2 separate regions of the Homo sapiens genome follow, and region 1 is linked to region 2. The links are contacts of gene promoters, found by promoter capture Hi-C in human tissues and cell types (Jung and others, 2019). All regions are on one chromosome and are shown on one strand. Each heading gives the region's core, a stretch centred on a gene start or on the middle of the fragment in contact. The rest is flanking DNA. Distances are from core to core; before and after follow the strand shown. Region 1 overlaps LGR5 (leucine rich repeat containing G protein-coupled receptor 5). Region 2 holds the start of LGR5 (leucine rich repeat containing G protein-coupled receptor 5).

Region 1 (3,152 bases), core at 592-3,091, 75 kb after region 2:
CTTATTAAAAATGCAGATTTCCAAGTCCTTCTCCCAGAATGTCTGGTTCCCTGGGTCAGGATTGGGGCCTTGGGGATCTGAATTTTTATGGCTTCTAAAGTGATGGCAATGCACACTAAAATTTGAGTACCACTAAGCAGAGCAGAAAAAAAGAAAAGGTGTGAGGACAGAAACTTGAGGAACATCTATGGTTGAGCAATGAAGACTAAAAGAGAGCCTAGCAAAAGGAAGAAGAGATGACCAGTCATAGTGGTAAGAGTAGTAAGATTGTGCTGAATCTGAAAGGCAGTGAGAGGAGTTTAAATAAAAAGCAATGGGCAATGGTTTTCTGATAGCCAATGCCTCAAGTGATACAGCCATTGTGTCCCTGCATTTTCCTGTTTTAGGTCAGGGTTGCTCCTGACCAACCTAAGCTTAAGACCAGCCTTCCTTTAACCAGAGTAATAATTAAAAACCCCCAATTTGGGGTCAAAATGCTATATTTGAACCAAACTTTCTTCTGTGAACTTTTCTACATAGTGTGAGCAAATAACCTCCCTTTGGCCCATTCTGCCATCTGTAAATGGAGATGATGCCAATTGTTTAATGTGATTGTTATAAACAAATAGCATCATGCCCATAAAGTACTGAATATTGTGCCCTAGCATTTATGGACTGTTTGATAAATGGTAGCTACTATTTATATGTCCAAAAGCACTATATGTGGCATATTGAAAGTGCTCTAAGAAATTGCTGAATTTAAGTTTGATATGTAACAAAGAAGGAATATTCCTCAGCTGTTTCTAGTCTGGTTTTGTGACTAGCTATCTTGGAATAGTTATGCCAGATCTGAAGCAACTGAGGCAGTATGGCCAGCTGCCTTTGGAAACAAGATCAAACGATCAATAAATATCAGTTGAGCTCCATACTCTGTGCATGCAATAAGACTCTTGAGCTTAGGAGTCTATAATCAGACTACTTATAAAAGGGTACCAAATGAGCTAGGCAGAGTGGTGCGTACCTGTAGTCCCAGCTACCAGAGAGGCTGAGTTGGGAGGATGGATCACTTAAGCCCAGGATCTTAAAAAACAACAACAACAACAAAAACAAACAAACAAACAAAAATAACACCTTTAAAAGAAAGGGTAGAGGGTAGAAAATCAACCATTATAGGCTACATTGTATAGAATGTATCTTATAGGAGAGCTGTTAACCGAGATGGTTAAGGAAGATTCCATAAAGGAATTAAAATTGAACTTCCTTAGTCTGGTTAAAGAAACCACAGGGGCAGGGCACGGTGGCTCACGCCTGTAATCCCAGCACTTTGGGAGGCCGAGGCAGGTGGATCACGAGGTCAGGAGATCGAGACCATCCTGGCTAACACAGTGAAACCCCGTATCTACTAAAAACATAAAAAATTAGCCGGGCGTGGTGGCGGGCGCCTGTAGTCCCAGCTACTCAGGAGGCTGAGGCAGGAGAATGGCTTGAACCCGGAAGGCGGAGCTTGCAGTGAGCCCAGATCGCGCCACTGCACTCCAGCCTGGGCGAAAGAGCAAGACTCCCTCTCAAAAAAAAAAAAAGAAAGAAAAAAAGAAACCACAGGGCCCTATGCACATTAAAGTATCTCCTTATTGACTTGAAAGAGTTCATTTACTCAGTCCAGTGGTCTTAGTCCTTAACAATTCTTAGCCCATGAACCTTGAAATCTGAATGTTTTTATTATATCAAATAATGAAAGCAAAATGCACAGCTCATGAATACACAGTTTAAGAAAGAAAGCTTTTTGGCTGGATTTGACAAATTGGATATGCTTAACACAATGACGGCATCACTTGAGGCATTGGCTAGAACAATGGAAGGGGGTAGATACAGTTTTTGAAAATTGCAATTTTTCAAGGAGTATTAGGAAAGATATTTTTTCTCAAATGGGGAGAAAATTAGTTGATGAAATGTCATGATTCTTATATCCAAGGCACTAAATTGGCTTCTGCAAATCTTACCAAAGATGAACACAAGAAGGTTAAGCTCTTACGTATCTGGTCCCATCTGACCAGCAGGGGCACCTTGTAAAAGAAAACCTACCATGGTGGGCTCAGTCAATTGCTGCTGTCATGCATTACTGCAAGTTGAGGCAAATTACATCTTACTATAAGTTTCATCATATTTCTAATTCTTGATATGACTCAGATACTTGGCTCCTGTATTGATAAACCAAAGCCAAACCTATAAATGTAGTTGGCCCTAAAAGCAACAAAAGCAAATTAATTAATTGAATTGAATCATGAATATCAATTTTAATAGACTATTATACTGGTTTCATCACTTATGTATCTTTTGAGAGTCACTAATTATATTATCATAGTTTTGGCTAACTTTATTTAGGACAATATTTTTCCAAATGAGAATATTTTGATACTTTATAAAAGAATAAAAGACTTTTCAGAAATTTTACATTTAAATGATAGTTTAACAGCAGTTAATTGTTCAGGTAAATTACAACTCCAAAGAGTGGGAAAATTCAGAAATAGTCACAGAACTGCTGAAATCAATATTGGAAAATCACAGAGAAGGAAAACAGTACCAGAAAACTGGAAATAGGCAAATATCATCCAGATTTTTAGAATGGAAAAAGAGGGAAAACTATTACCATTAAGCCTGATAGCCCTCATCAAATTTCTAGAAGAAATTAATTTAACATTTATAGACTGTATGCCCTCTCACTCTCGTGTGCTTTGTAAAAGTTAGAAAATAAAGCGGCAATTTCTAGGAGCCAGCATGAATTTACTAAGTAGTCTGATGAAATGTTTTCTTTTAAATCACAAGAATTATCATGTTCAAGTTCATTCTACTCCAATTATTTAAGTAGCACTGCTATTACATGGCTTCCATGCTCCATAAGAAGACTAGACTACATTTAAATAAATAAGGAAAGCAACAATGTTTTTCACTTTCCATAAAACCTTTTGGAGCTTTGGTGTCTTCATCTACAAAATGTGGACAATAATAATCCCTGACCTATCTCTATGATATAAATTATGAGAGAGTGCTTTTTACAATGTTAATGACATGTTATAATAAAGTAATCTTACAATAAACAAGAAGAAAAAGGGAGGAAAAGGAGAATGAGGGAGGAAAAAATAACAGTAGGAAATGCAAGTGTAATTTTTTTTTAA
Region 2 (2,952 bases), core at 237-2,736:
GAATAATGTGAGAATAAGCACAGAGTAGCAGTGAATGTGGTATACATAGGGAAAAGTGAAGGAAAAGGGTGTCCAGAGACGCGGGCTCTCTGTACTGATTGTGCGGAAACCGGAGTTAACTCACAATTTTCAGTGGCACTAGCACTGTCAAGTGCTTTGTTTGTTGTTTGTTTTTTCACCCAAGAAAGGAAGATGTTCAGACTACAGATTGTGGTCAAGAAATTATATATTTTAGGTGAACAAACAGCGAGGTTTGGACATGAAGGAAGGCACATACACTGCACAGAGAAACAGCTCTTCCCAACTCTAAAATTTAGACGTTTATTTGGGAAATTTTGTTGGGCAGTCTAAATGCAGGAAGATTAAAAAGGACTTGGAAAATCAACAGGGTATCCTGCCTTCATGATGCTGTGAGGCATTGTGCCCCAGAGTGAAAACTGCATTTTTGTGAGTTGGTGTGGCAGGCTTGGAATACCACCTCTTTCAGCAGCTCACTCAGGTCTGGCGAGGGCTATTTGTACCTCAACGAGGGCTTCTCTCCAAGAAAGCCCTGAATCCTTTTCCTCCTTTTTCCTGCAGATTCACTATAGGACACTTTTTGAAGCAAGAGCATGCATTTTCCCCCTGGCGCTCTGCAGCGGTTCTCAGAGCCCAGTGTCACTCACATAGGTGGGACTGCTCTCAGTTCAGAGAGCGCTGGGACACTTAAGATGAAAAGTCCCTGGAAGTTAGCAAACAGCCATCTGTCACTCTGGCATCGATTTACTAAAAGTGACTTCTAGGGTATTCTAAACCACTTTTAAAAAACAAATGAGTCACTTCGACTTCCTCACCCCGCAAGAGATAGGAAGGCAGCAGTGGAGTGCTCGCTCAGGAGCTGTATTTGTTTAGCGATTAGCCTAGAGCTTTGATTTTAGGGCAAAAGCGAGCCAGACAGTGCGGCAGACGTAAGGATCAAAAAGGCCACCTATCATTCGCCGGGGACGCCTGCCTCCTTACCCTGATAACGTAACTATTTCTCTGCATAGGATTTTAGTTTTTGTGTTTTTGTTTTGTTTTATTCTGTTTAATCACTTCAAGTATCTCATCCATTATTTGAAGCGGGCTCGGAGGAAACGTGCCGCATCCTCCAGTCCTTGTGCGTCTGTTTAGGTCTCTCCGAAGCAGGTCCCTCTCGACTCTTAGATCTGGGTCTCCAGCACGCATGAAGGGGTAAGGGTGGGGGGGTCCCCTATTCCGGCGCGCGGCGTTGAGCACTGAATCTTCCAGGCGGAGGCTCAGTGGGAGCGCCGAGAACTCGCCAGTACCGCGCGCTGCCTGCTGCCTGCTGCCTCCCAGCCCAGGACTTGGGAAAGGAGGGAGGGGACAAGTGGAGGGAAAGTGGGGCCGGGCGGGGGGTGCCTGGGAAGCCAGGCTGCGCTGACGTCACTGGGCGCGCAATTCGGGCTGGAGCGCTTTAAAAAACGAGCGTGCAAGCAGAGATGCTGCTCCACACCGCTCAGGCCGCGAGCAGCAGCAAGGCGCACCGCCACTGTCGCCGCTGCAGCCAGGGCTGCTCCGAAGGCCGGCGTGGCGGCAACCGGCACCTCTGTCCCCGCCGCGCTTCTCCTCGCCGCCCACGCCGTGGGGTCAGGAACGCGGCGTCTGGCGCTGCAGACGCCCGCTGAGTTGCAGAAGCCCACGGAGCGGCGCCCGGCGCGCCACGGCCCGTAGCAGTCCGGTGCTGCTCTCCGCCCGCGTCCGGCTCGTGGCCCCCTACTTCGGGCACCATGGACACCTCCCGGCTCGGTGTGCTCCTGTCCTTGCCTGTGCTGCTGCAGCTGGCGACCGGGGGCAGCTCTCCCAGGTCTGGTGTGTTGCTGAGGGGCTGCCCCACACACTGTCATTGCGAGCCCGACGGCAGGATGTTGCTCAGGGTGGACTGCTCCGACCTGGGGCTCTCGGAGCTGCCTTCCAACCTCAGCGTCTTCACCTCCTACCTGTAAGTACTTCCCCACGTCACTCCGGGAGAGAGACTAAGAGGGGAAGGAAGGTTCGTCCAAGGCGAGGCTGGAGGCTCCTCGGCGCCCGCCTGCTCGTGGGGGAGGGGGGCGAGTTTGTCAAGGGCATCCTGGCCAGGCCTGTTAGGGCCCCCAGAGAAATGCACGTGTCTCGGGGAGTAGCGTGCCGGCACTTTCTGGACCCGCAGAGAAATGGCTTCGAGTGCAACCCGGGAAAGCGCTGCTGCGCCGCAGCTTCCCAGTCCAGCGCTAGAAACATCGCAGGGCGAATTCCTGCAAATGCAGGCATTTGCGTGCGGAGTGGACATTTGTGACCCAGAGCCTGGTACCCAAAGGCAGGCTGCCATCTGGTCCCCGCCCCAACCGCCTCTCTGCGTCTAGTCGCATTCCACGAAAAGATGGTCTGTAGAAAGTTTCCCCAAAGGAGAAACAACTTGCCCAGCTCCAAAGGGTTTTTAGTCTGCATCCCTTGCACTGTGACGTGATGTAACCTTTTTGGGGTTTTTTCCTCTTTTCCTCCCTTCCTTCCTCCCTTCTTCCTTCCTTCCCTCCCTCCTTTCTTTTTATTTTCTTTCTTTTTTAACGGCGTGATTAAAATGTGGCAACCACAAACCCCGATTAGAGCTGCCAGAACGTTATCTTTACCTTTGGCTGCCCGCGCCGCCCTTTGAAGTGCCCGCGGCCGCTGTGTAATCTTTAACCATCTCTTCCCCCGGGGAGGAAAGGGGAAGTGGGCTGAAGGCTGTTGGGCTGGTAAACAGCGGCACCGACACCCAAAGGGAGACCTGAAGCTCTCTATCATCCCTGGGGGATTCTCCCACCCCTTCTCTCCCCACTGCAACTTCCAAAGCCCTGAGGCGGCGGCTCATTGCGTAATTTTTTCTGTGGAAAACCCAGGCCCGAAGGTAACAGGTAGTTGGGTGAACGCGGTGACCCAGGAGGAACCCTATTC

Evidence for each region. Contacts are between HindIII fragments. The study calls those that stand out against the background at their distance.
Region 1: a fragment that was not itself captured here is called in contact with the fragment with the promoter of LGR5 in region 2 in 5 of the 25 tissues and cell types used here (bladder, liver, mesenchymal stem cells and 2 more).

Annotation. Positions count from the first base shown.
Region 1 is chr12:71,513,022-71,516,173 of GRCh38, forward strand. The region is part of intron 2 of LGR5 (leucine rich repeat containing G protein-coupled receptor 5); the gene reads left to right. Among named protein-coding and RNA genes, the nearest start is that of LGR5, 75 kb to the left of the region's middle. The HindIII fragment of the contact is 4,830 bases long and covers 1-3,152 here.
Region 2 is chr12:71,438,312-71,441,263 of GRCh38, forward strand. It overlaps LGR5 (leucine rich repeat containing G protein-coupled receptor 5), which reads left to right and starts at 1,487. Exons shown (of 18, transcript NM_003667.4): 1 at 1,487-1,981. The coding sequence starts at 1,770. The region is part of intron 2 of LOC124902962 (a long non-coding RNA gene); the gene reads right to left. The HindIII fragment of the contact is 8,401 bases long and covers 1-2,952 here.